5 separate regions of the Homo sapiens genome follow, and regions 2, 3, 4 and 5 are each linked to region 1. The links are contacts of gene promoters, found by promoter capture Hi-C in blood cells and fetal thymus (Javierre and others, 2016). All regions are on one chromosome and are shown on one strand. Each heading gives the region's core, a stretch centred on a gene start or on the middle of the fragment in contact. The rest is flanking DNA. Distances are from core to core; before and after follow the strand shown. Region 1 holds the start of UTP25 (UTP25 small subunit processome component). Region 2 overlaps RCOR3 (REST corepressor 3). Region 3 overlaps RCOR3 (REST corepressor 3). Region 4 has its middle 8.8 kb from the start of TRAF5. Region 5 overlaps TRAF5 (TNF receptor associated factor 5).

Region 1 (2,700 bases), core at 78-2,577:
TATGATGTGACTATAACTAACAATTTATTGTATATTTTCAAATGGCTAGAAGAGCGGATTTTCAATGTTCCCAACGCAAAGAATTGATGTTTGAGATGATGAATATGCTAATTACCCGGATTTGATCATTACACATTGGGTACATGTATTGTTATCAAAATATCACACTGTATCCCACAAATATGTACAATCATTTTATGTAAGTTAAAAATAATTATAAAAACAGGCCAAGCGCGGTGGTTCACGCCTGTAATTCCAGCACTTTGGGAGGCCAAGGCGGGCAGATCACCCGAGGTCAGTAGTTCGAGACCACCCTAGCTAACATGGTGAAACCCCGTCTCAACTAAAAATACAAAAAATTGATCGGGTGTGATGGCGGGCGCCTGTAATCCCAGCTACACGGGAAGCTGAGGCAGGAGAATCGCTTAAGCCCGGGAGACGGAGGTTGCAGTGAGCTGAGATCGCGCCACTGCACTCCAGCCTGGGCGACAAAGCGAGACTCTGTCTTAAAAAAAAAAAATTATATATATACATATATATATGTGTGTCTACAAAAAATTCCTAGATCTCTGACCACACAAAAATCCGCCCCCATAGCTGGGCGCGGTGGCTCACGCCTGTAATCCCAGCACTTTGGGAGGCCGAGGTGGGTGGATCACCTGAGGTCAGGAGTTCAAGACCAGCCTGGCCAACATGGTGAAACCCCATCTCTACTAAAAATACAAAAAATCAGCCGGGCTTGGTGGCGGGCGCCTGTAATCCCAGCTACACGGGAGGCTGAGGCAGGAGCATCGCTTGAACCCGGGAGGAGACAGAGGTTGCAGTGAGCCAAGATCGCGCCATTGCACTCCAGCCTGGGCGACAGAGCGAAACACCGTCTTAAAAAAAAAAAAAAAATCCTCCCCCACACAACGGGCGTGCCTCTTAGCAGGAAATTACAGGCTCAACAAAAAGGCCCGTGAAGCACTCCATCTCCCGGCGGGATGGCGCCAGAATCTCCCCGGCCGAGCACAGCGGGAGCCAGGGAATAGTGGGAAAAGGCCGGAGCAGCACTATCTGGGAGACCAGAGGACCAAACTCGAGGATACATCTCTGGCGACTGGGGAGCCCTGCCACGCCCCTTCAGACCTGTCATAGAAGGGATGCTCCTCGCCGAAATCTCGAAGATGTTTCTTCTGCTTTTTAGTTAGGGTGTTGAGTAGCTGGCTCTGGCTCCGGCTCCCGCGTTTGCCCATAGCGAAAACGTCAAGTTTGCCCACTTGCAAGAGTCGCGGTTTTCCACCAGGAAGTTGTCCAGTCAACACAAGCACGTGGGCTCGCTGACTGCGCTTTACGGCGAAAGCAAGGTGCCATAAAGCAGATCCGCTTTACGTCGCGCTCGTACGACAGGCTTAGAACATCCGGTTCCCGGTTCTGCCCCCTACCGCAGCTCTTTGAAAGCACGGGAGTTCGTTCACTAGTGTTCTCAGAGCCCTAGAACGTGGGCAGCTGGGCTTCCCGGGTTGCGTGAGTCGGGGGCATGAGCTTTGTGCTTGTGTTTTGGTTATGGAAATCAGTCTGCGTAAATGTGTAGTAGCGGAGATAGTCGAATGCAGTGACTTTACAGTATACTGCAATAAAAATATCAACCAACATTTAAGGGTGCCTGAACATCTCACTTCATCACCACAACAGTGTACAGATAGGTCTTGTTAATAAGCCTGGTGTTGCAGATAAGGAAACTGATGCTTAGAAAAGATAACACGCTAGCGGCCGGGCGCGGTGGCTCACGCCTGTAATCTCAACACTTTGGGAGGCCGAGATGGGCGGATCACCTGAGGTCAGGAGTTCGAGACCAGCATGGCCAAACATGGTGAAACCCCGTCTCTACTAAAAGTACAAAAATCAGCCGGGCGTGGTAGCGGGCGCCTGTAATCCCAGCTACTCAGGAGGTGAGGCAGGAGAATCGCTGGAACCCGGGAGGTGGAGGTTGCAATGAGCCGAGATCACTCCACTGCACTCCAGCCTACTCCAGCCTGGGCGACAAAAGCTAGACTCCATCTCGAAAAAAAAAAAAAAGAAGAAAAGAAAAGAAAAGATAACACGCTAGCAAGAGAAGAGAGAAAAACCTTAACTGATGCAACCACATGCTTTTACCCATTAGGGTCTGCCGCCTGTGTGTGTTATATCAATCATGGGGCCCACAAGTCTGAGATTCCCACCCTCACCCTATTCTCGCATTTTCTGAAAGTATTGGAAGAGTCCCCGCAAACAAATCTGTTCCAGCATTCCCCATTTAACAACAGCAGAAACACATCTAGAGAGGTAAAGTGACTTTACTGAAATCACCCCAGTCAATGCTAGAAAAGGCTGTGAAACCCAATCCAGTGTCTCATAACTGAACTCGGACAAAAGGGGATGGAAAAGCTTTTGAAGGTAAAGGAACCATCTTACATTTTGATCATGCTAGTAGTTACACCTTGTATACATAAGAAAAGTTAAACTGTACAGTTAAAATGGGTGAATTTTAATGTATTTAAATAACACCTAAATAAACAGGAAAAAGCAAAAATATAAAAGTAGACTCAGTATTCTAGGGATTTGCAAGTGTGCAGGGCTGCTTGAGACCACAGGATAAAGATGGTGAGATCCTTTTCCTAATAGTAACTTATGCTACCATGTTCTATAGAAACAGAGTGCTTAAATCATAAGCCGCAGAAT
Region 2 (2,700 bases), core at 151-2,650, 1.4 Mb before region 1:
CTGGGATTACAGGCATGCACAACCACACCCAGCTAATTTTTGTTATTTTTAGTAGAGACAGGGTTTCATCATGTTGGCCAGGCTGGTCTTGAACTCCTGACCTCGTGATCCGCCTGCCTCAGCCTCCCAAAGTGCTGGGATTACAGGAACACGCCACCATGCTTGGCTAACTTTGTATTTTTAGTAGAGACAAGGTTTCTCCATGTTGGTCAGGCTAGTCTCGAACTCCCAACCTCAGATGATCCACCCGCCTCAGCCTCCCAAAGTGCTGGGATGACAGGTGTTAGCCACTGCACCCGGCTCATAAATGACTTTTATGTGGTACCGATAATTACCATTAATAGCCAGAATTCCAAAATTACTGACATATTAAAATAATTCCGAGGTTAAACTGTAATCCTTTATAAAGTTATAAGATACTTGGAATGAAGAACATTCATTTCTAGGGGTCAGAGAACTACTACTATAATCTCCAGCTAGAGAAGTTATCTATCAGGCAATAATATAATATCATTAAATATTTTTATTTTTAGAGAAGCATCATATATCATTACTGATCAACAAATTTTAGTTAAAAAATCATACATTGCTATAAAATATAAATTTATCTTAAAATTCTATGTATGTTATAAGGAAAATTAAGAAGAAAAGAGAACTGAAAGAAGAAACACTACCAAAGTATTCGAAAGCCTTTTGTATTTTGTCATATCTTTAATAAAAAAGGACACAAAAGCATGAGCTGAGAATTTAGGAAAATGCCAAATTAAGGTTCATTATGAAAAAATTTATATTCAATGAAAATAAACTGGCCAGGCCCTGTGGCTCAAGTCTATAATCCCAGCACTTTGAGAGGCCGAGGTGGACGGATCACCTGAGGTCGGGAGTTCGAGACCAGCATGACCAACATGGAGAAACCTCATCTCTATTAAAAATACAATTAGCCGGGTGTGGTGGCGCATGCCTGTAATCCCAGCTACTCAAGAGGCTGAGGCAGGATAATCACTTGAACCTGGGAGGCGGAGGTTGCGGTGAGCCGAGATCACACCATTGCACTCCAGCCTGGGCAACAAGAGCGAAACTCCATCTCAAAAAAAAAAAAAAAAAAAAAAAAAAAGAAAGAAAAGAAACTTTGATATATCTTTTTAAAACTTCAATATTAAGATACATATTTAAGTTTTAACCCTGTAAAATAAAAATATAAACACAAAATAGCCAACCCACTCAATGGTAATAAAACAAAAATCCTATTTAAGTTGGTCAGAAGCCTTTACTTAATTCATAAAATCTAATGTTATATAAAGTGAATATCCTAAACTTCAATCCTTTAACATGGAACTGATTATTCTGCACAATGGTCATGACAATAAGATCATTTAAATCCTACTTAATAGAACACGAAATGCAACAAAGAAAGTTTTCCATTAAGTCCCAAGTCTTAACGGCATATCATGCTAAATATTTAAACATAATTTCCCTGCATCTCATTCTTGCCTTACAGAAAGTCTGAATTAAAATATCTTCATTAAATGTCCCTTCTCAAAGAGATATTAAACTTTTTTTAAATTTTTCCCCATAAAAGGTAACAGCTACAGGCTGGGTGCAGTGGCTCTTACCTATAATCCCAGCACTTTGGGAGGCCAAGGAGGGCGGATGGCTTGAGCCCCGGAGTTTGAGACCAGCCTGGGAAACATAGCAAGACCTTGTCTCTACTAAAAACACAAAAAATTAGCTGGATGTGATCGTGTGCACCTGTAGTCCCAACTACTCAAGAGGCTGAGGTGGGAGGATCGCCTGAGCCCAGGAGTTCAAGGCTGCAGTGAGCCATGACCACACTACTGCACTCCAGCCTGGGCAACAGAGCAAGACCCTGTCTCAATAAATAAATAAATAAGTTTCAAAAACATTATTAGCATTGTAATTAAGGGCCCCATCTGACAGAAACTGGTATCCAAGTTGTGGGAACTAACAGCTCTTCCAATATCGGTGAGCAGGTAGATAGAGGAGCAGCATACATAGAGCAATCCTGATAGCAGAGAATGCCTAATTAAGCATTTCGCAATTTTCCTTCCCTAACTCTGAACTGGACTCTACTATTTTCAATTATATATGTGTCAACTAGGCCCAAGAGATGACTGATACAGGAAGTAAGGGATATTTCAGTGCAATGGTTAAGAATATGAACTACGAAGCCCAACTCCCAGAGTCTGAATACCAGCTCTGCTACTTGGTAGCTGTGTCACCTTGGATAAATCTATTTAATCTGTCTGTGCCTCAGTTTTCCTTCTCTCTAAAAATATGGATGATGAAAGTACCTACCTGACAGAGTTGCTCAAAAATTAAATGAATTAATGTAAGTACGTGGCATATGGTAAGCATTACCTAAGACTTAATTATTACTAGTATATGCTTATTGAAGACAGTTCTTTCTTAAGTTCCTTCCTTCTTTATCCTAAAAAGGCTTCTTCTCACCTTATCAACTACAAAATAAATGAATAAATCCTCAAGGGGCTGTATCTCAAAAACGGCTGATGTCCTCTCTCACCAACCCCTTGAAAATGAAATTGAATAGCTGTAAATGACCCATTATGTTTTTCTCACAATTCAGACGTGATTCCTTTCCTATAAAACAGGAGAAAGTAACATGTGCTATTAAAAATAACTTATCTACCTCTTGGGACACTTTGTGTCCAATAAGTTTTA
Region 3 (2,700 bases), core at 25-2,524, 1.5 Mb before region 1:
GGTTTGGAAGTTAGGCATCTTGCATTCATAGTTTGACTAAAGGCTAAGCATTTAACCAAATATGAGATGCGTTGGTGGTATAGTGGTGAGGATAGCTGCCTTCTAAATATGTACTATAAACACACATACTCCAGAGAGTCACAAAGTCAAGTGAAAGAAATTCCAAAAAGAAAGACATGGCTGACAGTGTCAAACATTACTGAGTAGTCAAAGGAGCTAAAAACCAGGAAGGCAGCATTAGATGTTGGCCACTTGTTCATAAGTGATTTTTTTTTTCTACTGTAAACCTTGAACTCCTAGGCTCAGGCGATCCTCTCTCCTCAGACTCTCTTGTGTTGCTAGGACTACACTACAGATACACACAACCACGTTTGGCTATTTTTAAAATTTTTTTTATAGAGATGAAGTCTCACTATGTTGCTCAGGCTGGTGTCAAACTCCTGGCCTCAAGTGATGTTCCTGTCTTGGCCTCCCAAAGTGTTGGGATTACAGGCATGAGCCACCATGTCAGCCCATAAATGATCTTCGGAGAGGTGTTTCAGTAGAACTGGAATACCATACGGGGCAGAAGCTAGATTAGAAAGGGTTGGAGAATAAGTTTTGGTAAGAAAGCAGAGGAAGCAAATGTGGCCTATGTTAGAGAACCAGAAAAGCAGTTTGGGTGAATAACCAGGACCAAGGAATAGAAAAATCTGAACATGTTTAAGATAGAGAATCTTGATCCCACACTATACTGTTGCAAGGTTCTTACATTTTGTAAGCAGAATATAGTAGTCCTCCCATATCCGCAGGGGATACAGTCCAAAACTCCCAGTGGATGCCTGAAACTGTGGATAGTACCAAATCAAAACATATCCAGGTTGAGTATTCCCTTATCCAAAATGCTTGGAACCAGAAGTGTTTCAAATTTCAGGGGATTTTGGGATATTTGCATAATATATACCAGTTGTACATCCCTAATCCGAAAACCCAAAATCCAAAATGCTCCAATGACCATTTCCTTTGAGCATTATGTCAGTGCTCAAAAAGTTTCAAATTTTGGAGCATTTCAGATTTTCAGATTAGGGATGCTCAACCTGTACTGTTTTTCCCTATATATACATACCTGTGATAAAGTTTAGTTTATAAATTAGGCACAATAGAGAATAACAATAGCTAATTAAAAATAGAAAAATTATAACAATATACTGTAATAAAAGCTATGTGAATATAGTCTGTTTCTCAAAATATCTTATTGTACTGTACTGCAAGTAACTGAAACCATGGAAAGTGAAACTACGGATTAAGGGAGGACTACTGTAATATTAACTAAATATGCAGTGATAAGCTAAGGATGAATATTGTAATCACTAAAGCAACTATAAAAGCAAAAAAAAAACCAAACAAACAAACAAGAAAATGCAAAAGATATAGCTGGAAAATGTAAATATGACCATGGTCCACCTTTCCTTAAAGTCCTTCAGCAGTTTCCTAACTCAGGATGAATTTCAAATTTCTTAACATGATTTTCTTATAAATCCCTGTCTACCTCTACTGTAACCTGCTAAAGGCAAGTAGAAACTAACAAAGAGCTTTAAGATGAGTGACAGTGATCAGACCAGTGCTTTAAAAAGATAACACTGGCAACAATGTGTAACCTCCAGCTAAAGAGAAGTAATAGAAAGAATCAACAAGAGGCCGAGCGTGGTGGCTCATGCCTATAATCCCAGCACTTTGAGGGGCAGGCAGGAAGATTGCTTGAGCCCAGGAGTTTGAGACAAGCCTGGGTAACATAGCAAGAACGTTTCTCTACAAAAAATTAAAATAAAAAAAATGAGGAGAAAAAAAGAATCCACAAGATAGTTATTGTCAGGCAAGCGATAGCAAGAGCCTAAATGGGCAGTAGTGATGAGATAAAAAAGAGGGAATTGATTTAAAGGAAATTTCAGAGACAAAACTCACATAACTTGGTTACCACTTTGGTTTACATGTGTTGGGAAAGGGATAACAGCAGGGGATGAATAAAAGATGATTCTGATGTTTCAACAGACAGGAAACAGAGAAAAAAATCTTTTGGGGAAGACCTAGCAGGCAGCTGGAACTATAGCTAAGGAGCTTGAGAAAAGCCACAGCTTGAGAAATAAGATTCAGAAGTCACTGGCATAGGTATAGGGTTGGTTGATATAGACCAAGAAAGTACAGATTTAGAAGAATATCTAGATTTAAGGGATAAGAAAAAAATAACAAAACAGACAAAAAATAGGAAAAGACAACTAAGAAAGGCCAGAGATCTAATAGCAACGAATAACTGAGCTTAATATGCGCCAGGCACTGTTTTAAGCACTTACCATATATTATCTTGTTTAATTCCTCTCAACCACTATACTATTATCCACATTTCCAGATGAGAAAACTGAGGCTGAAAGAAGTTAAAGAGCTCCTCTAAGGTTACACAGGAAGAGATGGTATAGCCAGGGTTAGAACTTAACAGGTTCACTGACTCTAGATGCTGATTTTTAACTACTATCTGATTATGATGATGCTGCCCTTACAATACTACTAGTACTACTACTGATAATGATGATGATGATGATGAAGACAACAACCATCACTCACTGAGCACTCAAAATGTGCCAAGCACTACTAAACAATCTACATGTATCACTGCAAATAATTCCCAATAACCTGCAAGAGAAGAATGATTATTATCCCCGATTTTAT
Region 4 (2,700 bases), core at 126-2,625, 1.5 Mb before region 1:
ATATCTTTTCTGTGTCTATCAACATAATCATATGGCTTTTTTCCTTTATTTTATTAATATGATATATTGCAATGATTCTCAACTGGAGGTGATTTTGCTCCTTATGGGACATTTGACCATGTCTGGAGACATTTTTGATTCTCAAACTGGGGAAGGGGGTTCTACTGGTATCTGGTGGGTAGAGGCTGAGGATGCTGTTCAACATTCTAAATGCACAAAAAAGAATTATCTAACCTAAAATGTCAGTAGTGCTGATATTGAGCAATATTTCATGTGCACATGGAAACAATGTTTATTCTGCTGTTGGGTAGAATGATCCCACATTTCAACTAGGTAAAGGTGTGTTATTCAAGTCATAGGCTGCAATCAAGCTGTTAGCTGGGTTCTGGTCATCTCAAGACCCAACTGGGGAAGGATCCATTTTCAAGTGCACATGGATGTTGGCAGGATTCAGTTCCTGGCAGGTTGTTGAACTGAAGGCCTGAGTTCTTTGCTGGCTGTTAGCAAAAGGCTGGCTTCAGCTCTTTGTCACATTAGAGGTTCCTTAATTCTGCTGGCTTTTGTCATAAATGTATCCCCATCTGCTGGTAGCTCCTCCTCTGGCTTCCTAGCACTGCTAAGGGTTATTTTGGTTTTTCTATTTCTTGTCATTTCAGTAAGACTGGCAGGGGGAGATTATGGGTAAGAAAAGTAAAAGACTATGTCCAGTCTGTCATCTTGAACTGAAATTAATCTCTCATTTTTGCACTGCACTTTAATTTTTTTAAAAAAATGAGCTGAGATTGCGCCATTGCACTCCAGCCTGGGTGACAGAACGAGACTCTGTCCAAAAAAAAAAAAAAAAGTCACAATACATTTCCCTTATTAAGAAGGGTATGGTATAAGTAGACATGTAAAAACCTCTAACATACATTGGGCAGGTACTATATGCCCCAGTTTATATATTCCTCCCCAAATGAGGAAAATGAGGCTCACAGAGATTAAGTAACTTGCTTAGTGGAGTTGGAAAACTCATTGTGTTAAAGGTTGGTGGGCAATTATTTTGCAAATATAGGCCACAAGCCCTCAATGATTCTGATTATTTTCAAACTCTTTTGGAAAAGATGAAGAGGCAGGATATCAACAAAATGGTCTTTGGATTAAAGGCCTCTTCAAGCCAAATCCTGTCAAATAAGAAAGCTGTTCCAGGTAGTAAACTAGACAGATCCCTCAAGAGATACCTTGTGTTGTGGTATTATTCAGCATCTTCTTAGTTATTGGTAACTGTACCTTACAAATAAGATTAAATTGTACAGAATAAAAATTTCACCTTTCTTAAAATAGTCCAAGGGAAGGAAACATATGAAGCATTCTGTGACATCAACTTTGACCTCATTTACATTGTGAAGACTGTTCTTAGATCTCTCCACTTCACATCACCAGCATTTTTTCCTTAGAGACCCTGCTCACCCAGATTCCTGCTTTAGGATTCTAAAGTTTAGATTACTGCATTGTAAAGACTGTTCCGTTTATTAATAAACAATTGTCTACTTTAAACCAAGTAATGACAATTGGCAAACATCTCAACCCAATATTAACTTCTGATCTTCACTGTTTCTCCCTTAGCTATATAGACTTAGGAGAGCAAAAAAGGGCAGATAAAGCCACATGGCCCTTTAGACACAAACTCACACATCTAGGAGCATTCCTTGTCATGTTTAATTCTCAAACTCCATTGTCACTAATATACTGCTGCAGAACATTCCTTCCCTAAGGCAGTTATGATAAAGAAGTTGTGGGGAGTTACACATGACCTACTCTTTCCTAGGTGAAAACAGTTCAGGTACTACCATAAATCAGATGTCAAAAGTTTCTTGTAGGCATTTTCTAATATGGAATGGTTTCTCAAACTTGATTCTTGGGTTCTTTCCGTATTCATTTATTCTGTTATTTTCTTATAAACGATGTAATCTATAATGAATGGCTAAATTTAAAAACACTTTTTTTCTTGTGTGTCCTCTAATAAGAATGTATTTGTCATTTATTTTGGGCATGCACAAAGAGAAAGATAGATTCTTCTTAGAGTTCGAAGTCAGATTACTATTCTTTTTGAGGAGATCCTGACACCCCAGTGTTAACTAGTTAGCAGTTATTAATGTTCATAAATAACCTTTTGATAACAGGAGGGAACATAAAATTAATACAACATACTTAATAACTAAACTAGGTACTTTAACCCAAGTACAGTCATGCACCACACAATATTTCGGTCAGTGACTGCAAATACACTGATGTTCTTTAAAATTATAACATCAGCAGGAAGCAGTGGCTCATACCTGTAATCCCAGCACTTTGGGAGGCCAAGACAGGTGGATCACCTGAGACCAGGACTTCAAGATCAGCCCGACCAACACGGTGGAACCCCATCTCTACTAAAAAATACAAAACTTAGCCAGGTGTGGTGGCGGGCGCCTGTAATCCCAGACACTCAGGAGGCTGAGACAGGAGAACTGCTTGAGCCTGGGAGGCAAAGGTTGCTGAGCCAAGATCCCGCCACTGCACTCCAGCCTGTGCGACAGAGTGAGAACCTGTCTCAAAAAATAAATATATAAAATATTGTATTTTTACTATACCTTTTCTATGTTTAGATACACAGATATTACCACTGTGTTATAACTGCCTATGATATTCAGTACAGTATATTACTGTACAGCATAGGAC
Region 5 (2,700 bases), core at 28-2,527, 1.5 Mb before region 1:
TTCCCCTTTTTTTAAAATGAGGAAATGGAGGCCTAGTGAGCTCCTACTGCCAGGTAGTGGTGGAGGCCCTCAGGGGATGAAGAGCTGGGGTTCCTCCCTGCCCCTCCAAGGTTCCAAGAGTCAGCATGGCATGACAATTACCAGCATGAACTCTGGAGTAGACTTGCCTGGATTCATATCCTGCCCATACCCCTTCATAGCCACGTGACCTCAGGCAAATTACTTAGTCGCTATGTTTCTCCGTTTCCTCATCTGTAAAACGATGATAATGAAATGCTGGACAGGACATGGAGTAAAGGGAACCCTCATACACTGTTGGTAGGAATGTAAATTAGTACAGCCACTATGAAGAACGGTATGGAGGTTCCTCAGAAAACTAAACACAGAACTACATATGATCCAGCAATCCCACTGCTAGGTATATATTCAAAAGAAAGGAAATCAGAATATTGAAGACACATCTGCCCTCTCATGTTTACTGCAACACTGAAGAACCAAGATCTGGAAGCAACCTAAGCATCTATCAACAGATGAATGGATACAGAACATGTGGTACCTATACACAATATTCAGTCATAGAAAAGAACAAGATCCTATCACTTGCAACAACATAGATGGAACTAGAGGACATTATGTTAAGTGAAATAAGCCAGGCACAGAAAGACAAGCTTCACATGTTCTTGTTTGTGGGAGCTAAAAATTAAAACAATTGAACTTATGGAGACAGAGAGTAGAAGGATGGTTACTAGAGGCTGGGAAGGGTAGTTGTGGGGTGGGGGAAGTGTTGGGTAGAGGAAGTGGGGATGATTAATGAGTACAAAAATATAGTCAGAATAATCGTATAGAATACAATCTAGTATTTGATAACAGGGTGACTATAGTCAACAATAATTTATTGTACATTTAAAAATAACTAAAAGAATTGGGATGATTGTAACACAAAGAAATGATACATGCTTGAGATAATGGATACCCCATTTACCCTGATGTGATTATTATGCATTGTATGCCCATATCAAAATATCTCATGTAGCCAATATACACCTAATACACACCCATAAAAATAAAAAAGTAGGACTTATCACAATTCAAAAAAAAGAAAAATATATCAAAAAACAAAATAAAATGGTGATAATAACAGTAGTTACCACATAGAACTTCTTAAGATTAAATACGTCAATACTATATACATCAGGGGTTGGCCCATCACATGTTTTGTAAATAAAGTTTTATTAGAACACAGCCATGTTCATTCATTTACATATTGTCTATGGTTGTTTATGTGCTACCACAGAGGAGCTGAGCAGTTGCCCCACAGACCATATGGCCCACAAGGCCTCAAATACACAGTTACTACCTGGTTCTTTACAGAAGAAGTTTGCTGACCCCTCTATGCATGAAGAACTTATAGTGGTAGTACACAGAGGTGTCATAAGGGCTATTATTAATAAGCACTTGCCCCTGAGTCTCTCCATCAATGTCCCCCACTCTGAGATAACCTGACTGCCTGACATGCTATTTGCCTTCTCATTTCACCCAATTTTGAATTCATGGTTACACTGGACTATCTCGCGCTAAACATTTATTGATTCAGTCACTTTTTGTAAATCATTTCTTTGCTGGGAACCTACCATAGGCAGACACTGATGAGGAAACAAAAATGCAGCACATGGGCCCAAATTCCCCACCCCCTGGAGCTCTGGCCCATTCTCCATCCTCAGCCCGGCAATGCCCCATCAACCTCTTTCTCCCCTCTCTCCTTCCCATTCCCAGCTCCAGAGCAATGCCCGATGGAAACACACCTTCCAGGTGGCACCCACAGACCTGTGTCCTTTATCAGATCCCATCAGTGCCTCTCTGAAGCCTCCCTGGCCCTCCCAAGCTTATCTGTACTCTACCTGGAATAAGTCGGCAGGCCCAAATCATCTGGGCATGTGGTATATGAGGCCATATACAGCCTGGGAAAGCATATTATGTTAGTTTGATGATCTAAACTGTAATCACATCATCACATTTGCTGACTAGTCTCTCCTAAATCACTGCCCTCCTGCCCTTTATGTGACATTTGGCACTTCCTTCTTGAAACTCCCTGATCCCTTGGCCCTAGGGTTCTGTGTTTGTTGGTTCTCCTCCCAGCTCTGAACCACACCTCTTGGTGGCTCCTTGTCAGCATTCCACTCCTGCAGGGTTCCCCAAAGCTAGGTCAGCCTTCTGCCCTTTGTTCTTGACTCAGCTCAAGAACTTCTCCTCATTGGAAAGGCTTCTCCTCATTGGAAAGGCTACCTACTGCCACCTCAACTACATTCCCAAATGGGGGTGGGTGTGCCCACTGCATGGAGCTATGGGGCTGTCATCTCAGACTCACACTTCTCTCCCCCTTCCCCCTTCCTGACCATCCTCCTTGCTTACAAAGAAGGTACAAAGAGGCCAGGCGCGGTGGCTCACTGTTGGGGTGATCAGACCCAGCACCAGGTCGTGGGGGTGACAAAGTCCAGCAGAGTCAAAGGACTGAGAAAAAGACAGTTTGAGAGATAAAGGTGGGACACCAGAGGGCCATCGCGATTGTGGAGGCTGCGAAGACCGCCAGCTCTGGGAGCCCACGCTACTTATTGGTAATCCAACAGAGAAACAGGTGGTAAGAATGTGGAGGTCAAAAGGACACGTTGCATTAAGCACATGATTTACAGCTGTGATGGTTTA

Evidence for each region. Contacts are between HindIII fragments. The CHiCAGO score rates a contact against its expected background, and 5 or more counts as called.
Region 2: a fragment that was not itself captured here is called in contact with the fragment with the promoter of UTP25 in region 1 in 5 of 17 cell types (naive CD8 T cells, naive CD4 T cells, activated CD4 T cells and 2 more); the score reaches 7.8 in naive CD8 T cells.
Region 3: a contact is called between a fragment that was not itself captured here and the fragment with the promoter of UTP25 in region 1, in 4 of 17 cell types (total CD8 T cells, naive B cells, non-activated CD4 T cells and 1 more). The highest score is 7.7, in total CD8 T cells.
Region 4: a contact is called between a fragment that was not itself captured here and the fragment with the promoter of UTP25 in region 1, in 5 of 17 cell types (activated CD4 T cells, total B cells, total CD4 T cells and 2 more). The highest score is 10.0, in activated CD4 T cells.
Region 5: a fragment that was not itself captured here is called in contact with the fragment with the promoter of UTP25 in region 1 in 1 of 17 cell types (total B cells); the score reaches 8.7 in total B cells.

What each region holds. Positions count from the first base shown.
Region 1 is chr1:209,826,599-209,829,298 of GRCh38, reverse strand. It overlaps UTP25 (UTP25 small subunit processome component), which reads right to left and starts at 1,327. Exons shown (of 12, transcript NM_014388.7): 1 at 1,129-1,327. The coding sequence starts at 1,235. RefSeq lists an enhancer at 1,238-1,287. The HindIII fragment of the contact is 3,327 bases long and covers 1-2,408 here.
Region 2 is chr1:211,266,784-211,269,483 of GRCh38, reverse strand. All of the region lies in intron 2 of RCOR3 (REST corepressor 3), which reads right to left. Among named protein-coding and RNA genes, the nearest start is that of RCOR3, 8.8 kb to the right of the region's middle. The HindIII fragment of the contact is 5,534 bases long and covers 1-2,700 here.
Region 3 is chr1:211,289,651-211,292,350 of GRCh38, reverse strand. The region is part of intron 8 of RCOR3 (REST corepressor 3); the gene reads right to left. Among named protein-coding and RNA genes, the nearest start is that of RCOR3, 32 kb to the right of the region's middle. The HindIII fragment of the contact is 2,888 bases long and covers 1-2,700 here.
Region 4 is chr1:211,316,638-211,319,337 of GRCh38, reverse strand. No RefSeq gene overlaps it. Among named protein-coding and RNA genes, the nearest start is that of TRAF5, 8.8 kb to the left of the region's middle. The HindIII fragment of the contact is 3,259 bases long and covers 1-2,700 here.
Region 5 is chr1:211,340,722-211,343,421 of GRCh38, reverse strand. The region is part of intron 1 of TRAF5 (TNF receptor associated factor 5); the gene reads right to left. Among named protein-coding and RNA genes, the nearest start is that of TRAF5, 15 kb to the right of the region's middle. The HindIII fragment of the contact is 1,214 bases long and covers 671-1,884 here.